Linked DNA regions of Homo sapiens: regions 1, 3 and 4 are each linked to region 2. The links are contacts of gene promoters, found by promoter capture Hi-C in blood cells and fetal thymus (Javierre and others, 2016). All regions are on one chromosome and are shown on one strand. Each heading gives the region's core, a stretch centred on a gene start or on the middle of the fragment in contact. The rest is flanking DNA. Distances are from core to core; before and after follow the strand shown.

Region 1 (5,379 bases), core at 1-2,500, 560 kb before region 2:
CAGTAGAGGAATTAAGAGATATAGAATCCATTACGATGTATATATATTTAAGTATAGACAGTCCTCAATTTAAATGGGCCACATTCCAAAGTGTCTCTGTTTAGAATTTAGAATGCTTTTTCTATAGAAAAATGTTTTAAATAGTGGTTTAGTTTCCAGACTAGTTCCTCAAAAATCCAAAGTAAGCCCAAAGTACAGTACTTTCACCCTTACCTCATTATTTACCTTGCTGTTATCTGAAAATGTATCCTGGCTGGCAGTGGTGGCTCACACCTGCAATCCCAGCAATTTGGGAGGCTGAGGCAGGTAGATCACTTGAGGTCAGGAATTTGACCTCCCCAGCCTGGCCGACATGGTAAAACTCCATCTCTACTAAAAATACAAAAATTAGCCGGGTGTGGTGGCACACGCTTGTCGTCCCAGCTACTCCGGAGGCTGAGACAGGAGAGCTGCTTGAACTCGGGAGGCGGAGGCTGCAGTGAGCCGAGATCACGTCACTGTACTCCAGCCTGGGTGAGACAGAGCAAGTCTCTGTCTAAAAAAAAAATAAAATAAAATAAAAATAAAATAAAAAAATGCTCATTATCAGTGGCCATCAGAGAAATGCAAATCAAAACCACCATGAGATACCGTCTCACACCAGTTAGAATGGCGATCATTAAAAAGTCAGGAAACAACAGGTGCTGGAGAGGATGTAGAGAAACAGGAACACTTTTACACTGTTGGTGGGACTGTAAACTTGTTCAACCATTGTGGAAGACAGTGTGGCGATTCCTCAAGGATCTAGAACTAGAAATACCATTTGACCCAGCAATCCCATTACTGGGTATATACCCAAAGGATTATAAATCATGCTGCTATAAAGACACATGCACACGTATGTTTATTGCGGCACTATCCACAATAGCAAAGACTTTAAACCAACCCAAATGTCCATCAATGATAGACTGGATTAAGAAATGTGGCACATATACACCATGGAATACTATGCAGCCATAAAAAAGGATGAGTTCATGTCCTTTGTAGGCACATGGATGAAGCTGGAAACCATCATTCTGAGCAAACTATAGCAAGGACAGAAAACCAAACACCGCACGTTCTCATTCATAGGTGGGAATTGAACAATGAGAACACCTGGACACAGGATGGGGAACGTCACATACTGGGGCCTGTCGTGGGGTGGGGGGAAGGGGGAGGGATAGTATTAGGAGATATACCTAATGTAAGTGACACCAACATGGCACATGTATACATATGTAATAAACCTGCACGTTGTGCACATATACCCTAGAACTTAAAGTATAATAAATTTAAAAACAATGTATTCTAAGTGACAACTAGAGCACCAGAAACAAATCTTTTGGGGGTATGGGAACTTACTAATGCTTCAGAGTTACGTAAGACAGAAATTCTTTACAATCCTCACTCCCTGGATGATCTTACTAGGGAAATGAAGCAATTGTTCTAAGATAGAGCACAGGAGGAAGAAGGGGAAAGGACTTAAGACTTGGACTCCCTTACTGCTGATCATGTATTAGCTGCTGACAGATGAAAATTATATTTACGGCTGATTGTAAGGTCAGATTTTTGACCATAAACTTTGAGGAAGAGTAAGGTTCTAAACATCTGTACTTCATAAAGTATAAAATGTTTGGTACACAGCCTGGCCAACATGGTGAAACCCTGTCTCTACTAAAAATATAAAAAATTAGCTGGGTGTGGTGGCGGATGCCTATAATTCCAGCTACTCGGGAGGGGGAGGTGGGAGAATCACTTGAACCCGAGAGGTGGAGGTTGCAGTGAGCCAGGATCACTCCACTGCACTCTAGCTTGGGTGACAGAGCGAGACTCCGTCTCAAAACATAAAATAAAATGCTTGGTTCAATGTCATGAACAATTATTCTCTAAAAACATCTCCCAATGGAGAGATTTCCTTCTATTTTCCATGGAGTTCTCACCTGGATGCATCATCAAAGAGTTGGTCAACGTGAGCCACCTCAGATTCTTTCTGTATTACCCATGTCTCTAACTCTGCTAGCTGCTTCTTGCGTTGCTGTACACAATCCATCTTCTCCAGTTCCTCATCGATGAAATGCCGAAGTTCCTCCATAGAGATACCCAGTTCCTCAACCACTGCCTGTTGCAGCTCTGCAATCTCTTCAGACTCCACTGTAGCTGTTGCTGCATCCAAACCAATGCACCCAGGAAGGGAAGACATGCTTTTGTCCTCTGCATGGAACAGAAAACAAATTAAATTGGAGTCCTTATAACTACAATCAATCAATAGAGAATTTCAGTTCCCTAATAAAACTAATTCCTACTCTGCTGCCTGTTATTCTATTCAAATATTCCATGTTCTCCCTCCCTATTCTCCAGAATCTGATGCTGAGATTTTTAAGAGTTCTTATCTTCTGCTGTACGCTAACACTCCTGAAAAAGATTTAAGAGTTTGAGACGGCATGGAGAACATTCATTAAGCAGTAGAGAGCTACTGAAAATAATGTTTTGGGCTGGCACAGTGGCTTACACCTGTAATCTCAGCACTTTTAGAGGCCGAGGCAGGAGGGTCGCTTGAGGGCAGGAGTTCAAGACCAGCCTGGGCAACATGGCAAGACTCGTCTTTACAAAAAAATACAAAAATTAGCCACGTGTGGTGGTGCACGCCTTTAGTTCCAGCTACTCAGGAGGCTGAAGTGGGAGGATCGCTTGAGCCCAGGAGTAGCTGCTGTAGTGAGCTATGTTCGCGCCATGCATTCCAGCTTGGGTGACAAAGTGAGACCCTGTCTCAAAACAAACCGAACTTTAAAAATAATCTTTTGGGATACTGAAGAGAACCAATCTATAAGATATTTTTGTGGTCTATATGTGTTCCTTAACTAATGTGATAAATCTTTGTATGCTATGCCTAATTTAAACAAAACCCCACCTGGGGATGGAGTTGATTTGGAACTCACTAACTCAGTGTTTTCTCTTTCATTACTTGTTCCCCTTATATTACTTTGCTTCCATGTGGAATTTTACTTTTTAAAAAGTCTATGATATTCAAACACACGAAAGCTTGCAGCAAAAAGGTTTCCCCCAAAGTACAGAGAAGTAAAGCAACCTGGGAATAAAACGTGGGTACCTAATATCCACAATCCAAATACTTCACACATTCGTGTGAACTGCTTTTTTAATCAAACGGTTAAAGAAAATCTGATTTTCAGCGCCTCCATTTTCCTCTGCCCACACACCAGCCCACCCCCGTGCTACCCATTCTAGGGGTGCGTCCTACCCATTCGCAAACCCAGTTCAGCCCCGCCCCCGTTCGCCTCTGGGGAAGACTTCCTTCCCACCCTCGCCCGACCCCCTCCCACAAACAAAACGTCCCAGATAAGCCTTTGGTCACCAAATAACTCAACAGTATTCCCCGCACCTCCCGTCTTCCAGCTTCAAGGGCTCTTTTTCACCAACCAGACCCCAGACTCACAACTCAGGGGTCGGCCTCGACGGAAAAGAGCGAAAGCGAAGGGATAAGGGAGGAGGGGGAGGGGAGGAAGCGTGAAAGAGGGAAGGGGAAGCAAAAGAAACGCCCGGAAGCAAACCTTTAGTGCCGTTCCGGTCACCGCGACGGTAGCCTGACGGGGTCAAATCCAAAGCCGCGGGGCGCCCCTCAGAGGCGACGAAAACTAAGGTAACTACGCATGCGTTAAGGCAGAGCCTTCCAGGGGCACACGTGAGAAGAGACTGGCAGGGCAGAGTAGGCGTGGCCAGTATATTACCGAGTCTCCGCCGCTCCTACCACCCTCGACTAGTGGCCCCATTACTATATTCATTGTGTAAAGACTTAGGGAAACGCTCATAGGTTCAGAGCTTTATTCTCTCAGTTTTACTTGAGTTTGTTTTGTTACATAAGTGATACAAATTGTAAAGGCTATCAAGATGTAATAAGAAAAACGTGATAATATTCTCTCTTGCCCCATCACCACTCCGCTCCTTTCAGGTAATACAGCTTCATTTTCCAGTCTTGTATGTACGAGTTTCTGTATTTGGATTTTTGTTGTTTTCATTTAACATGTGGACATTACCTGAAGCCAATAAAAAAGGTAAAACTTGTATTTTTGGCCGGGCGCGGTAGCTCACGCCTGTAATCCCAGCACTTTGGGAGTCAGAGGCGGGCGGATCACGAGGTCAGGAGATGGAGATCATCCTGGCTAACACGGTGAAACCCCGTCTGTACTAAAAATGTTAGCCGGGCGTGGTGGCGGGCGCCTGTAGTCCCAGCTACTCGGGAGGCTGAGGCAGGAGAATGGCGTGAACCCGGGAGGCGGTGCTTGCGGTGAGCGGAGATCGCGCCACTGCACTCCAGCCTGGGCGACAGAGCGAGACTCCGTCTCAAAAAAACCAAAAAAAACAAAAAAACAAAAAACCAATAACTTGTATTTTTGACACCTGAATAGTTTAGATTGTTTAGATTGTTTTCCGTTCTCAGCCCCGACAAATAGCGCAACAATAAAAATAAACATCCTTTTGAAGTAGTACTTTTATTTCTGTAGAAAAGATTCCCCAGGCCGGGCGCTTTGTGTCCGAGGCGGGAGGATTGCTAGAGCCCAGGAGTTCCAGACCAGCCTGGGCAACACGGCGAAACGCCATCTCGACTAAAAATACAAGGTAAAAAAAAAAAAAAAAAAGCCAGGCGTGGTAGTTCGCGTCTGTGGTCCCAGCAACTCCGCAGCTGAGGCGGGGGGAGGATCGCTTGAGCCCCGGTGGCAGAGGCTTCAGTGAGAGGAGATCGCGCCACTGCACTCCAGCCTAAGTGACCGAGCGAGACTCCGTCTCAAAAACAAAACAAAACAAAAAACAAAAAGAAAAGATTTCCCAAAATGGAATTTGAGTAAAATAATATGTGCTTTTTTCCTTTTTTTTTTTTTTTTTTTTTTTTTTGAGAAGGCGTTTCGTTCTATCGCCCAGGCTGGAGTGCAATGGCGCGATCTTGGCTCACTGCAACCTCCACCTCCCGGGTTCAAGCGATTCTCCTGGCTCGTCCTTCCGAGTAGCTGGGACTACAGGCGCGTGCCACCACGCCCGCCTAATTTTTTGTATTTTTAGTAGAGACGGGGTTTCACCGTGTTAGCCAGGCTGGCCTCGTCACACCTCGGCCTCCCAAAGTGCTGGGATTACATACAGGTGTGAGCCACTGCGCCGAGCCTTCCTTTTTTTGTTTGTTTGTTTGTTTTTGAGACTGAGTTTCGCTCTTGTCACCCAAGCTGGAGTGCAATGGTGCGATCTCGGCTCACTGCAACCTCCACCTCCCGGGTTCAAGCAGTTCTCCTGCCTCAGCCTCCCGAGTAGCTGGGATTACAAGCCCCTGCCACCACACCCGGCTAGTTTTTGTATTTT
Region 2 (5,180 bases), core at 707-3,206:
GATTTGAAACGTTCTGCAAACAATCCATGCTTTAACAGAGCTCGTTTCTGCAGTAAAGCAGCAAAATGGAAAAATCTCCAGGATAAAGACAAAAAAAACATAACTGGAGAAAAAGGTACTACATATTCAAAAAGCACATTTCCTGTGCACATTACCCATGAGATCAACTCAATTGTGTAAAAAGGTATTTCAGGTAATTAAAAAGTAACGGGGCCGGGCACGGGGGGCTCACGTCTGTAATCCCTGCACTTTGGGAGGCCGAGGCAGGTGGATCACCTGAGGTCGGGAGTTCGAGACCAGCCAGGCCACAATGATGAAACCCCGTCTCTACTAAAAATACAAATAATTAGCCGGACATGGTGGCGGGCGCCTGTAATCCCGACTACTCGCGAGGCTGAGACAGGAGAATCGCTTGAACCCGGGAGGTGGAGGTTGCAGTGAGCCGAGATCGCGCCACTGCACTCCAGCCTGGGCGACAAGAGCAAAACTCCGTCTCAAAAAAAAAGAGGAACTGGACACGCTTTATATTTGAAGGTATTAACGATGATACTGACTACTGTATCGCAGTTGTTTCTGGTCAGTATCCAAGAAACCTGTATTTTATTGCAGCAAACACAGGTACAGGGAAAACCCGGTGGTGCCTCAGATCTATGTAGAGCTCATGCTGCTTCTTAACATTCATCCAGGTAAGGCTCTCCTTACTACACATCACAAGTTTTAGATACATTCATCCAGACAAGGCACTCCTCATTAAACATCACTGGATTTACTACTGCTTAAAACCACAGCTCGCCTACCATCAGGAAAGCCAGAAATCATTAACACGTCAAGGCCTGTAAGAAATAAACAGACGCTACAATTTCCGCGAAGGTTCGGAAAAATCAATACACCTTACAAGGCTCTGAAATATTAAAAACAATATACGTAAATCTCCATGGATCTGGGCCCAACGGCCCAAGGTCACAACAATTCAATGGCTAAAAAACCCAAGAAATGAGTCTCCTGCAATTCAGGACAATCCTGGCTAGGAATGGAGTCTGGGTTTGGGACCACTGGGGTCAAACCTTTAATGTGAACAACCCCAACCAAATGCTGCGGCTCCGTGGGAAAACCCCAAGCGTTTCAGGCCACACTTCCTTCCATTTCCCCAGTCTTCCCTTCCCTAGTCACCCCCAACACTCACATCTCCGGAGCCACTTCATCCAATGATAGACGATAGTACTGTGGTGTTTTTTGTTCTCTATACACCAAGACGACAAGCCTTGAATGGACTCCATGGTGTTGGTTACCGACTGGAATTTTCGATCCAACGAGGACTCCAGAGCCCCTGCCGAAGAGGCCGACGAGGAGGAGGCCTTACTGCTGCCTCCGCCGCCGCCGGCCGCCATCTTCCCGGTTTGCACAAGCGCTGCTGCTCCTCTGGCGGCGGCGGCGGCGGCGGCGGCGGGAGCGGGCAAAACAATCACTGCGAGTGCGTGAAAGCCGTAGGTGGGGAGGGAAGCTAGGGGGTGGGGATGGTGCACGCGCTGGGCTCTTCTGGAGGTACGGACGGGAACACCAGCTGCTGGGCACGCTGGCAGCTCCTACACGCTGCAAGGAGGGGCTGCGGGTCTCGGAGGTTTTATCAATATTGTTCAAGGGGTCGTGTTTAAACCAGTCAGTAATCACGGAAAAATTACGCAGAAAACAGGACCTGCAAAGCCTTTCAAAACGCCTGACGCCGAAACTAATCGTTTTATACTTTTCGGCTCTCAGTGCTAAGGCCCTTCCCCGCCCCTGTTCCCACACTCCTGTGAGCCAGGTCGGGCGTTAATATCTTAAATGTAATACTACCCGACTGCCCCTTCAGTTGCAGAAATCTTTCTTTCCTTTAGACTCGCTAGCACAGAAAAGGTCCAAGGCTACCTAGTCAGGATTTTTTTTGCAACGCAATAGCAGCAAAGGGGCAGCAACAGTATCGCGCACGCGCCACTTGGCCCCACCCCCCTACCCCTGCTTCCTTCTCAACCTTGAAAGCAGAGGGAGGCGTGATGGCGGGGCAACCTGACCAATCAGGAGTGGAGAACCACAAGCGCGCGCAGGAGCTCTGAAGCCCCCAGGGCCCAGGAGGCGCTACGATTATTTTTGCGCCTGCGCAGAAGATAAGCGTGTAACGGGATGGAAGGAAAAACTGGGAGGGATGGGTGAGGGAGCTGGTATAACTAAGGTTAGCCGGGTGGGGGGGTTCCCCTGCCCCGCCCTTTGCTGCTTTTGGCCGCTCTCTTGGGTGTGTTCAGCTCACACAACAGAGACAGAAAATTCCCACCACTGAGACCACTGTTAGTCTTCAGGGGGCTGCAGCCATCGCCCCCAACTCCTCGGAGGAGCAACGCGCGACAAAATGGCTGGCAGCCATCTTGCGGCACCACAAAAGATGCGCATGCGCCAGATCCAGTGAGCCATTCACTACGCAGACTCCGACACCAAACCGTATTTATTGCTGCCCATAGAAGATAACATTCACAGCCGCTTGACCATTTAGGTTACAGGAAAAGGAAATAAATGAGGAAGTGAAAGGAAATTTTCCTCATAAAATTTTTCGAGGCGAAAAAAGAATGGCAAGATGTGACCTCATTTTCGCCAGCTATGATACAATCTTAAAATTGCATAATACATTACAGTTTTCAAGAGTCTTACGTAACTATTATATGAACCTTATACGAACCATTTTATCGCAGGTATCTATGTAAATCCTCTGAGCTAATTTAAAGGCTCCTGTGTTCCCACTAAACATATACAGTTTTAATTCTTTTAACGTCTCCTCACTGCGGCCATGCCTCTTGAGGCAGGGAACCTGTTTTGTCAAGTTCATGTCCACTATTCATTAATTCAACGAGTTGTTGAACCTCTTGTGCCAAGTACTGTTTTAGATCATGGGGAGCAAAACAGACAAAAATCCGTTCCCTCCGGGATTTAGTGGCAGGACACCACCAACAAGTACATTTCAGACAGTATTAAATTCTGTAAAAAGGTGAAGCAGGGTAAGGGAGAAAGGGGTGTGTGTGTGTGCGCGCGTGTGTGTACGTGTGCACGGCACGCACGCGCCAGTATAAGAATGGTGGTATGGTGAACCAGGAAGTCTTCTCGAAAGAAATAACTCGATCTGAACATTGAGAAAAAAGCAACCAAGCAGATATGCGAGACGGGGAGCGGAACATGCTGGCATTAGGAACAGCAAGTGCAAAGGCTCTAAAATACAGTCTCGCTCTGTCCCTGCCAAGGCTAGAGTGCAGTGGCACTATCATATCGCACAGCAGCCTCAATCCCCCAGACTCAAGTGGTCCTCCTGCCTCAGCAGCACAAGTAGCTGGGACTACAGGCCTGCACCACCACACCTAGCTAAAAAAACAAAACAACAACAACAACATTTTTTTGAGAGGGGGAGTCTCCCTATGTTGCCCAGGCTGGTCTCAAACTCCTAGCCTCAAGCAGTCCTCCTGCTTTCAGCCTCCCGAAGTGCTGGGATTATAAGCTTGAGCCGCCATGCCTGGTCCTGACCCCACATTTTTTTTTTTTCTGTAACTCTAGCCAAAGACCCACTTTTTTATAGACTATTTTTAGAGCAGTTTTAGATTCACGGCAATTGTGTGGAAAGCACAAGGAATTCCATATACCACCTGCCCCCACACATGAATACCCTCCCCCATTATCAATGTCACGCACCAGAACGATACATCTGTTACAACTGACAAACCTACACTGACACATTATCACCCAAAGCCCATAGTTTACATTAGGGTTCGCTCTTGGTGTTATACCTTGAGTTTGGACAAATGTGCATGTATCCACCATTACAGTATCATACAGAGCAGTATCACTGCTCTAAAAACCTCTGTGTTCCACCTATTCATCCTTCCCTCCCCCTTATTCCCCTAGCGACTACTAATCTTTTTACTGTCTTCATAGTTTTGCCTTTTCCCGAATGTCATATAGGTGAAATCATTCAGTATGTAGCCTTTTCAGACTGGCTTTTTTCACTTAATAATATGCATTTCAGGCGGGGCACGGTGGCTCATGCCTGTAATCCCAGCACTTTGGGAGGCCGAGGTGGGTGGATCACGAGGTCAGGAGTTCGAGACCAGCCTGGCCAACATAGTGAAACCCCCGTCTCTACTAAAAATACAAAAATTAGCCGTGCATGGTGGCGCACGCCTGTAGTCCCAGCTACTCCGGAGGGTGAGGCAGGAGAATCACTTGAACCTGGGAGGCGGAGGTTGCAGTGAGCCAAGATCAGGCCACTGCACTCCAGCCTGGGCAACAGAATGAGATTCCACCTCAAAAAAAAAAAAAATGCATTTCAGTTTCTTCCATGTCTTTTCATGGCTTGATAGCTCATTTCATTTTAGTGCTGAATAATATTTCACTGTCCAGATGTGCCAGTTTTATTTATCCATTCACCTGAAGGACATCTTGGTTGCTTCCACATTTTTGCAAGTATGAATAAAGCTGTTACAAACATCTCTGTACAGCTTTTGGGGTGAATATATTTTCAACTCCTTGGGTAAACACGAAGGAGCACAATTGTTACATCATATGGTAAGAATATGTTTACTTTTGTAAGAAATCATCAACCTAAGGCCGGGCGCGGTGGCTCATGCCTGTAATCCCAGCACTTTGGGAGGCCGAGGCCGGTGGATCGCCCGAGGTCAAGAGTTAGAAACTGGCCAGCCTGACCAACATGGTGAAACCCCATCTCTACTAAAAATACAGGGCCAGGTGCGGTGGCTCACACCTGTAATCCCAGCACTTTGGGAGGCCAAGTGGGGTGGATCACAAGGTCAAGAATTAAAGACCAGCCTGACCAATGTGGCGAAACCCCCTCTCTACTAAAATTACAAAAAATTAGCCGGGCGCAGTGGCACATGCCTGTAATCCCAGCTACTCAGGAGGCTGAGGCAGGAGAATTGCTTGAACCTGGGCAGCGGAGGTTGCAGTGAGCCAAGGTCGCGCCACTGCACTCCACCCTGGGTGACAGAGTGAGACTTTGTCTCAAAATAAGTACATACATACATACATAAAATAAAATAAAACAAAGCAAAATTAGCTGGACATGGTGGCAGGCACCTGTAATCCCAGCTACTTGGGAGGCTGAGGCGGAAGAATTGCTTAAACCTGGGAGGCAGATGTTGCAGTGAGCCAAG
Region 3 (5,417 bases), core at 101-2,600, 590 kb before region 2:
ACACTCTTCTAGTCTCTTGTACTGGTAGCCAGAGTTAGGGTTGATTTGGCCTCCTGGGGTACAGGCTGTAGCCTGGATAGTTAGTTGATGGCAGGCACACTTGGACCTATATGACAGAGGGAAATAAAGGAAAGGAGCGGGGGGATCAGAGAACAAAAATAACACAATACACATGTACCCAAGGTTGCTCAGTGTGGCCATGTCAGACTCCAGCCTCCCTACCTCATAGCTTTCATGGAGGCCTTATAGCAGGAGTTCCAGGTGAGGGAGGAGGTAAAGGAAGATGGGGAAAGCAGTACAGATACAAGGCAAAGGAAGAGGTGAAACAGACACCATAACAAAGTTGGAAGCAGGGGCAGCAATTCCCCCCACCAACTCACTTGTCCCGACACCCATCCTTGCAGTCACAGCCAACCAGAAATTCAGGGCCTGTGTTAATGAAAACACCCTTGCCCGGGATACGTTCCTTGCTGTAGGCCACCTGGGGTGGAGGGGTTGTGTCAATCTCATTGACACAGGATAGGGGAACATCTTCCTTCCCATAAGTGATGTCCAAAATATAGTAAAAAGGCTTATAGGGCTGAAACTTTCGGTCCACAAGAACATATGGATCCAAACAGAACATCTCCAGGAAGAGGAAGTCACAGCCAGTCTCGAAAAGGTAGCGTTCTATCTCCTGCATTGTCCGAAGGCAGAGACCACAAGGTGTCTTATAGATAACATGAAAGCCCATCTTGCGGTTAACTCGACGCCGGGCTGTCATCCGCCGGAAGTCATATAGTAACGGGACCAGCAGAGGGTTCTTGCCCCGGTACTGCTCATTCCTCATAGGTCTGACTCGAGACAGACAGGTATAGCTGCAGACATGAGGTAAGTAGAAAAGCTTCTCCATGGGAGCACGGTAGGAGGGCTCTGCTGGGGCCCGCTCCAGCATGCCATGGAAGACTGGGGGTGCTGGAGGGGCCGGGAGTGCTGAGGGTGCTGGGGCAGAGGCTGTGGAGCCTAAAGGTGATCTGCAAATGAGATGCAAGTGATCAGATCGGAAGGCAACAGGACCTCTGTTTTATAATTAACCCTCCAGGTAGCTAAGCCATTTCTCTCATCTTTCAAACAGCTGTGCTCCTGAAGCTAAAGATGATTCAAGAAAGATCTTCCCTTGCCCTACCAAACCTGGACAATGAAACTCCCTGGTTACTCTTCACTGACTGATAACATCTCTATTTCTCTTTTTTTTTTTGAGACAAGTTTCGCTCTTTTTGCCTAGGCTGGAGTACAATGGCACGATCTTGGCTCACCACAACCTCTGCCTCCTGGGTTCAAGCGATTCTCCTGCCTCAGCGTCCTGAGTAGCTGGGATTACAGGCATGCGCCACCACGCCTGGCTAATTTTGTATTTTTTAGTAGAGACAGGGTTTCTCCATGTTGGCCAGGCTGGTCTCGAACTCCCGACCTCAGGTGATCCACCCGCCTCGGCCTCCCAAAGTGCTGGGATTACAGGCATGAGCCACCGCGCCCGGCCTAACATCTCTATTTCAACAGTATACCTTTTCCTAAAATGTATTTGCCTGTGAATTATGGAAGTAGAATCCAGTCTTCTACCAATGTTTTTTTGGTCTGCTGCGTGTTCTAAAAATGTCCTTACTAACTCCAAGGAAAGAGGCTGTGGTGTTTCCTTTCTATTTTAGCAATGATGGCACCATGTTCAACAAGAAGTTTTAACAAATGGCTTTCAGATGATACCATATTTCCAAGCACCCAGCTTCCAATTCAATTATTCTTACTTTCTATTTCTTAGGAACTTCTATGGGTAAAGCTTCCTTTTCAAGTCCAAACTCCTCACTATCATAAGCTTAAACTAAGCCCTTCGCTTACAGCCAAGGAACCTTCCCCTACACAGTGACCACTCATTGCTATCCTGCCTACAGAGAGCCTCAGATTTTCTCACCTATATGTCTGGTTGATCCCAGGTTTCCCACCAGAGACATTTTCACTGAGTGCAGGAGATGTAGGGGAGGAATGACCAGAGCCCACAGATCCTGGTCGAAAGGACGTGCTCTTTTTGGCTACCTGCTTCCGTGACTGGGCAAGCTGGCTTTCCAAGCTTCTAGGAGATTAGAGAAGAGGGCATATAGTAAGGGATGTGGAAAATATAATATGAAAGAAACTGAAGAAAAAGAAAGAATAACACTCACTCACTGTCACCTGCTTGGGGGGATAGAGGTGGAGCAGGTGGGAAAGGTGGGGCAGGTGGAGCTGTAGGCTGTGGGGGTTCCACTGGCTTGAACTGGGTTCCAGTACCGGTCAGATCCTGTGTGTACTGGACAACAGGGCCTTTGCTCCTCACAGCACCTATAGGAAAAAGGAAATTGAGCACTGAGAAGATGATAGCTATGACGCTTGTATTCAGTCACACATCTGATCCTTAACTTATACAATATAAAAAGGAAGCAATGGCTGGGCGCAGTGGCTCTTGCCTGTAATCCCAGCAGTTTGGGAGGCCGAAGTGGGCAGGTTGCTTGAGGTCATGAGTTTGAGACCAGCCTGGCCAACATGGTGAAACCCCGTCTCTACTAAAAATACAAAAATTAGATGGGCATGGTGGTGCACATCTGTAATTCCAGCTGCTCGGAAGGCGCAGGACAATCACTTGAAACCAGGAGGTGGAGGTTGCAGTGAGCCGAGATCACATCACTGTACTCCAGCCTGGGCAACAGAACAAGACTTCGTCTCAAAAAAAAAAAGCAGCAATGGACACATTTTGAGTAAGTGCTTAGACTCTCAGTTCCCATTATTGACTGGCATGGACGCTGGCATACATTGTTTTTTGACTTAGATAATACTTTTTCTTTTATTAAAGTGAAAGCAAGTTTATTCACAAAGTAAAGGAATAAAAGAATAACGGCCAGGCGCGGTGGCTCATGCCTTTAATCCCAGCACTTTGGGAGGCTGAGGCGGGCAGATCACCTGAGGTCAGGAGTTCAAGACCAGCCTGGCCAACATGGAGAAATCCCGTCTCTACTAACAATACAAAAATTAGCCTGGCATGGTAGCAGTCGCCTGTAACCCCAGTTACTCGGAAGGCTGAGGCAGGAGAATTGCTGGAACCCGGGAGGCGGAGGTTGCAGTGAGCTGAGATGGTGCCACTGCACTCCAGCCTGGGCAAAAGAACCAGACTCCATCTCAAAAAAAAAAAAAAAAAATTGCTACTCTGTCGGCAGAGTAGCCTCTTTTTTTTCTTTTTATAGACAGTGTTCCACTTTGTTACTCAGGCTGAAGTGCAGCGGTGTGACCTTAGCTCATTGTAACCTTGAAATCCTGGGCTTCAAGCAATCCTCCTGCCTCAGCCTCCAGAGTAGCTAAGGCTACAGGTGCACACCACCACACTCAGCATTTTTTTTTTTTAAGAGATAAGAGTCTTTCTATGTTGCCCAGACTGATCTCCAACTCCTGGCCTCAAGTGATACTCCCACCTCAGCCTCCCAAAGTGCTGAGACTACAGACACGAGCCACCATGCTGGGCCTTAGATAAGACTTTATATCTTCCTATCTCAGATGATTTACCTAATTATGTTATACTTTGGGGAAATATTTTCAGAAATATATTCTTTAACCAACTAATTTTGGCAGGAAAAATCAACCAGAAAGTATGACAGTAATATTAAAAAAGAAAACCAAATCTGTTTTTTGTTTGTTTCTGAGACAGGGTCTCGTTCTGTCACCCAGGCTGGAGTGCAGTGGCACGATCTAGCTCACTGCAACCTCGACCTCCTGGCTTCAATTGATCCTCCCACCTCAACTTCTTGAGTAGCCTGGACTACAGCTTAATGCCACTGTACCCAGCTAATTTTTGTGTTTTTTTGTAGAAACAGGGTTTCACCATGTTGCCCAGGCTGGTCTTGAATTCCTCAGCTCAAGCAAACCACCTACCTGTCTCAGCTTCCTAAAGTGTTGGGATTATAGATGTCAGCCACTGTGCCTGGCCAGGTCTGGGTTTTAAAGAAAACTGACTATACGCTGGATGTGGTAGCTCATACTTGTAATCCTAGCACTTTGGGCAGCCGAGGCAGGTAGACAGCTTGAGCCCAGGAGTTCAAGACCAGCCTGGGTAACATATCAAGCCCCGGGTCTATTTAAAAAAAAAAGAAAAAGAAAAAACTAACCATAGATAACACACAAAACTGACAATTCTCATGTGGATAACAGAGGGTAACTACTATCACCCTAACCTAAAGCCAACTGTTTCAGATTTTTATGTGGTTGTTTAGAACAAATTAGAGCCACAGCATGTGGAAGCAGCAGCACAAATTGATCACCATGATTGGAAACAACTCAGGGCACATATCCTGTTTCCAATGAGTATACAGTGTAACCATGCTAATCAAAGGATAGCCATTGTATATAATCTCCTTTGCTGGTTGGCCTGTTTCTTCCTTCCTCCAGGAATCTTTCAGGACATACCCATATTTGGACGTGTCCTGAGCTGTCCTTGCTTCTTCTCCAGTGCAGAGGCTGAGGATGTTTTCATGCTGAACATGGGCTCCAGCCGTGTAGAGCCTCGATAGATCCACTCACATCTTTTGTCATCCTGGGGAATTGAGAGAAAAGAATGAAGGGAAATAGCTTAAAGGCTAGAATCTATCCTGTCCTGTGTAGAGGATATATACCATGTGTCACCTCTGGGAATCCTCCCTGATGAGCCTTAAATTCCTTAGTCTAAGCTAAGCACAGTGGCTCACGCCTGTAGCTTGTAATCCCAGCACTTTGGGAGGCTGAGGCAGGTGGATCACCCGAGGTTGGGAGTTCAAGACCAGCCTGACCAACATGGAGAAACCCCGTCTCTACTAAAAATACAAAATTAGCCGGGTGTGGTGGCGCATGCCTGTAATCCCAGTTACTCGGGAGGCTGAGGCAGGAGAATTGCTTGAACCAGGGAGGCGGAGGTTGTGGTGAGCCGAGACTGCACCATCGTACTCCAGCCTGGGCAACAGGAGCGAAACTCCATCCCCCCCAAAAAAAAATTCCTTATCTACTTAATAAAGTATGTGCCAGGATCCATGATGGGTATCAGGAACACAACAATGAAAAATATATACTCCTTGTTTAAGGAATTACAGGAGCAACAGATATCTATACTGAGTATAAGAGGTATGACAGCTGGGCACAATAGCTCACACCTATAATCCTGGTATGTCGAAAGGATGAGGCAGACAGACTGCTTGAGCTCAGGAGTTCGAGACCAGCCTGGGCAACATGGCGAAACCCGTCTCTACTAAAAATACAAAAATCAGCCAGGTGTGGTGGCATGCACTTGTAGTCACAGCTACTTGGGAGGCTGATGTGGGAGGACCACTTGAACCCTGGAGGTTGAGGCTGCAGTGAGCTGTGATTGCACCACTGCACTCCAGCCTGGGTGGCAG
Region 4 (5,025 bases), core at 1-2,500, 640 kb before region 2:
GTGACATTTTAAATGACACTTGGCAAAACAGATCATCTTCTTTCTACAAATTCTGCCCTTTACCAAACTGACTCAGTCGCCACCAATTTTGTGGTTGTTCATGTTAGGAGAACATTAGAATAATCTTTGACCCCTCTTGTTAACACCTACAGTCTCCTGCCAACTCCTGCTGCTTCTCCCTTTGCAACTCTGTAGCCTGTTTTTTTCTACAGCCTCGGCAAATATCTTCTTCCTTTCTTGGACGGTTGTAACCTTGGCTTTTTGCTCTCTGCCACCCTAATTGTTCCAATTGCTCTTTCAGCCTTTAGAGTTGCTTGAAATTTCATCCTGTGGCGGCCCTGTACATAGAGTTTAGGGAACCCTTCAGAATGTGGAGTTAGGTTCCAACCTCCCTTAACTGCCACTTTCCAGCCGCAGAGTAGTGCAGGTACTGCAAATAAATGGACACTCATCATCAAAAATTCCCTCATTTATTTATCTATCCCTTTATTTCCTACCGTCAGCCTCACACCAGCTTTTCCTGCTTCCCCAGCTGTAAATCGAGAGGAGGTGACTGATGAGAGGCCTGCAGTGGAACCAAGATCCAGAGCACAGGCGTGTTGGATCTCCTGCCTGCTCTGCCAGTTCTTTTCTTCTTCTTCTTCTTTTTGAGACGGAGTCTTGCTCCGTCTTCAGGCTGGAGTGCAGTGGCAGGATCTTGGCTCACTGCAACCTCCACCTCCCGGGTTCAAGCGATTCTCCTGCCTCAGCCTCCCGAGTAGCTGGGACTACAGGCATGTGCCACCATGCCCTGCTAATTTTTGTATTTTTAGTAGAGATGGGGTTTCACTATGTTGGCCAGGTTGGTCTTGATCTCTTGACCTTGTGATCCGCCCGCCTTGGCTTCCCAAAGTGCTGGGATTACAGGCGTCAGCCATCGCGCCCAGAGCCTGGGGCTTCTACCACACCCTCTGCACTCTACCAGGTGCACAACCCAACCAGTTTCATTTCTAGACTTAAAAATGATACAGCAAGGACTTGGAAAGGAGCTCTCTGGAGGGCTCCAGAGGGAAAAGAGCTGGGTTTGTTTGTTTGTTTTTAACATTAATTGAGTAATACATGCAAATATCGTGCTCTTTGCTCCTGCTTCTGTGGATCCAGAGCAAAGGACTGCCATACCCAGAGAGAGAGCCCAGATCCAACAAGCTGCTTCTGTCCAGCCCTTCTCCTCCCTACTTAGCAAGGGCACTTGCTCTTCCCTATTCTCACCAGAGAGGCACAAGCGCTCCGTCCCTTCTAGAGGCAGGCAGAGGGAAGAGAAAGGGTCTGTTGTTTTTCTCTCCTGTTTCTCGCTCCCTCTCTGCTGATCACAAAGCTGCTGACCGGGTCAGAAAGTCCTGATGGAAATCCACCAGCGCTGGGCAGGCCCCTCCTCCTCCAGGGAGCTTGTCCTTGCCTAATTTTTCTTCGTCCTGATGAGAACAAAAAAGAGAGAGAGAAGAAAAGAAAAACCACAAACTTCCTTTGAAAACCAGCTTGTAGTCAGGGCCCGGAGCGCATGCCATAGACTCGGCGACTCAGGAATCCTGAAGACTCTCTGAGCGACCTGGAGCACCTTGGCTGTGTCCCTGCCTGCCTTCACCCTCCTCCAGTGCCCCCAGTACTGGGCGTGAGTCCGGAAGTGGCCACAACCCAGCCTGGACCGTCGCTTATAAAGCTGTGTAAACCTGTATAAGCTCAGGCGTTGACAGCTGGAAGGCAGCTGGCACTGGCAGCCCCCTTCATTGCACCTATCTCCCCCATCTCATTGCCACGGCTGAACCCTCCTTCTCAATCTTGGAACAGCACCCCCTTCTTTAAGGTAAAAACTTTATTTTAATCATCTTCTTCACCTCTTCTCCCACCCTTCTCTATTTCCTCTCCAGCTTTGGGGAGCTGACACCTGCTGTCCTTCCACCTTTGGTCTGCAAGTCTGGATTGCTTAGAGGAGCTAAGTCAGGAGAGACATGTAAAGGGGATGCTGCTTGGTCCTCCTCCTTTTAATGAAAGCACGAAACCTTCCCCCTCTCCTTGTGAGCAAGTATACAGGGCACTGTGGCCATGGTTGACATATTCTGAGATGAAAATCTAAACTATTGATTGCACAAAGACATAGGTCAGACTAAGAAGGAGATTGGTGTGAGACAGTAAGGGAACTGTTCCTACAGAGAAGGAGTGTCTTCTTGAAGCTACATACCTGTTTTACGTGCTTCTTCCAACTTTCGGCTCTCTACTGCCATTGATTAGGGAGGAGCCAGGATTATTTTAACTCCCTCACTCACCACCATAATTCCAGCTGGAGAGAAAGTGTAGGATTTGACGAGCTAAGAAAGAGGAGGAAAAGAATGAAACTTTGATTTATCTGACTATCCTCTCCCTCATTCTTTCCTACTCTGAAATACTCCATGCCCTCCCCAGCAGGATTGGACGTTGTAGAGTAGAAAGCCTCCATTACATTTCCTGCCCCTGCCTCTTAAGACTTAGCCCATTTAGCTCTGCCCAGTTCCTCTGAGACCCCACTCCCTCAGGTGTCCACTCCTGGGTTCCTTTGGCTCACCTCTCCAGCCAGCTAGCTGCCCAACCCCCACTTCATCATTGATCATTTCTGGCACTGGAGAGAAAATATAAAAAATAAGGCCTGCTTTTCTTTTTTTTTTTTCTTTTTTTCTTTTTTTTTTTGGAGGCAAGAGTCTCACTCTTGTCACCCAGGCTGGAGTGCAGAGGCACAATCTTGGCTTACTGCAACCTCCACCTCCGGGGTTCAAGCAATTCTCCTGCCTCAGCCTCCTGAGTAGCTGGGATTACAGGTGCCCGCCACCGTGCCCGGCTAATTTTTGTATTTTTAGTAGAGATGGGGTTTCGCCATGTTAGCCAGGCCGATCTTGAGCTCCTGACCTCAGGTGATCCGCCCGCCTCGGCCTCTCAAAGTGCTGGGATACAGGTGTGAGGCACTGTGCCCGGCCAAGGCCTGCTTTTCTTCAAGCTTTTTCACTTTTCCAGGCTCTGGCATCTGCTTTGAGGTTCACCCTAAGTGTCATTTAAGGGGAGAAGGAAAGGAGAGAGAGAAAGAGAGAGAAAAAAAAGCATAAGGCCTGCAGGCAATTTTTGCTACTCTGATTCTAAATTAACAACACGTAAATGATATGCAGCTAGCATAAACATATGTGAATCAAGAGGATAATCAATTTGAGTGACTAGGCTTATTTTGTTTCAGTAACTTTAATGTTCCTCAACCTCATCTCCCAGGCCTTCCCCTAGCCCCAAATTCCTGTAGGTTTACAAGAAGGAAGCAGTCTCAGGCTGGGAGGAGGGTGGAGAAAAGACAAGATTTCTAACTAGTTTAATTTATTTTATTTTATTTTATTTTATTTTATTTTATTTTATTTTATTTTATTTTATTTTTGAGATGGAGTTTCGCTCTGTCACCCAGGCTGTAGTGCAGTGTCACCATCTCAGCTCACTGCAACCCCCTGCCTCCCAGGTTCAAGCAATTCTCCCACCTCAGCCTCCCGAGCAGCTGTGACTACAGGCACGTGCCAACACACCTGGCTAATTTTTGTACTTTCAATACAGACAGCGTTTTGCCATGTTAGCCAGGATGGTCTCGATCTCCTGACCTCAAGTAATCTGCCCGCCTCAGCCTCTCAAAGTGCTGGGATTACAGGCGTGAGCCACCGCGCCTGGCCCCTAACTAGTTTAATTTCTCCCTGTTTCTCTCCCTGATAAAGAGTGGGAGGGGAGCAAGGAGATTGAAGGGAGATGTTTTCCAAAGGGCAGGATTTGTGGTTTTTTATTATTTATACCCACAGTATTAGTTAAATGTCTATCTGTGCTTGCCTCAATGTGCCTCCAGTGCTGATAGAGAACAGGTTAAACAGGTCCGGTGTTCACATCTAAAATGACCTGGAGAGGACTGGGCACGGTGGCTCATGCCTGTAATCCCAGCACTTTGGGAGGCCAAGGTGGGAGGATCACCTGAGGTCGGAAGTTCAAGACCAGCCTGACCAACATGGAGAAACTCCATCTCTACTAAAAAATACAAAATTAGCTGGGCATGGTGTTGCATGCCTGTAATCCCAGCTACTCGGGAGGCTGAGGCAGGAGAATCACTTGAACCCAGGAGGCAGAGGTTGCAGTGAGCCGAGGTCGCACCATTGCACTCCAACCTAGGCAACAAGAGCAAAACTCTGTCTCAAAAAAATAAAAATAAATAAATAAAACCACTTGGATGGGAATAGACATAAAACTTTAGGTAGGTGAATGTACAGGAAGTATTGTTATGTAAATTAATAATCAGCATTTTCATATTTCATAGAAATAGCAGGCAAGAGAGTACCTCTGGGTTTAGGTAGTTTCTGGGGAAAAAAAATGAACTGAGGAAAAGTTGCTGTCTCAATGCTAGCTGTCAAGAGATGCTTACTGGGTCCAGGCACCGTGGCTCATGCCTGTAATCCCAGTCCTTTGGCAGGCTGAGGAGGGCGGATTGCTTGGGCCCCCAGGAGTTAAGACCAGCCTAGGCAACAAAGCAAGACCCTGTCTCAGTTTAATTAAAAGAAATTTGATATCTTTATTAATTTTTTTTAAAGAGAAGCTTACTGGAAGAACTTGTGGGGAGTGCTTTTTGTGCCCCTAATCTGAAGTTATTTATCAAAACCAGTCTCTGATTCCAGCCCCCACCACCTACATTTCCCCTCCCAGCTTACAGGAAACCCCTCCCAAGGCCTTTATACTGTGGTTTGGGATTGTGTAAGGTTCAGTAGAGCCCTTTGAGGTGGAAGACTTCCCCTTCCTCACCAGCATTTCACCTTTAGGGGCATGAAACTGACTCTCTGTGCCTCCTCCATTCTTCACCCCAAGTACTATGTGACTTAATCTTTTTATCCTTGGGTGAGGCAGAGAGAAGGTATCCCTAAACATACAAGCACTGTGTATTCTTAGTATGTTGTGTGAAGGGGCAGGGTGTGGGGTAGGGCAGAGGAATTATCTCTGTCATGGCTATGAGGGGGT

What was found. Contacts are between HindIII fragments. The CHiCAGO score rates a contact against its expected background, and 5 or more counts as called.
Region 1: a contact is called between a fragment that was not itself captured here and the fragment with the promoter of RPRD2 in region 2, in 1 of 17 cell types (activated CD4 T cells). The highest score is 5.2, in activated CD4 T cells.
Region 3: a fragment that was not itself captured here is called in contact with the fragment with the promoter of RPRD2 in region 2 in 1 of 17 cell types (total B cells); the score reaches 7.2 in total B cells.
Region 4: the fragment with the promoter of MINDY1 here is called in contact with the fragment with the promoter of RPRD2 in region 2 in 1 of 17 cell types (neutrophils); the score reaches 5.0 in neutrophils.

What each region holds. Positions count from the first base shown.
Region 1 is chr1:150,924,554-150,929,932 of GRCh38, reverse strand. It overlaps SETDB1 (SET domain bifurcated histone lysine methyltransferase 1), which reads right to left and starts at 3,570. Exons shown (of 22, transcript NM_001366418.1): 1 at 3,416-3,570; 2 at 1,959-2,229. The coding sequence starts at 2,218. LOC107985204 (a long non-coding RNA gene) reads left to right here and starts at 3,592. Exons shown (of 3, transcript XR_001738231.2): 1 at 3,592-3,673. The HindIII fragment of the contact is 3,618 bases long and covers 1-3,059 here.
Region 2 is chr1:150,360,923-150,366,102 of GRCh38, reverse strand. RPRD2 (regulation of nuclear pre-mRNA domain containing 2) reads right to left here and starts at 1,956. Exons shown (of 11, transcript NM_015203.5): 1 at 1,184-1,956. The coding sequence starts at 1,388. RefSeq lists enhancers at 396-685, 1,169-1,448, 2,199-2,508, 2,669-2,738, 2,719-3,661. The HindIII fragment of the contact is 10,239 bases long and covers 1-3,513 here.
Region 3 is chr1:150,946,054-150,951,470 of GRCh38, reverse strand. SETDB1 (SET domain bifurcated histone lysine methyltransferase 1) reads right to left here. Exons shown (of 22, transcript NM_001366418.1): 10 at 4,459-4,585; 11 at 2,193-2,349; 12 at 1,946-2,104; 13 at 381-1,013; 14 at 1-106. Among named protein-coding and RNA genes, the nearest start is that of SETDB1, 22 kb to the right of the region's middle. RefSeq lists a cis regulatory region at 1,435 and an enhancer at 1,363-1,507. The HindIII fragment of the contact is 930 bases long and covers 886-1,815 here.
Region 4 is chr1:151,003,127-151,008,151 of GRCh38, reverse strand. It overlaps MINDY1 (MINDY lysine 48 deubiquitinase 1), which reads left to right and starts at 1,250. Exons shown (of 10, transcript NM_001376665.1): 1 at 1,250-1,840. RefSeq lists enhancers at 1,345-1,524, 1,755-2,014. The HindIII fragment of the contact is 12,196 bases long and covers 1-3,003 here.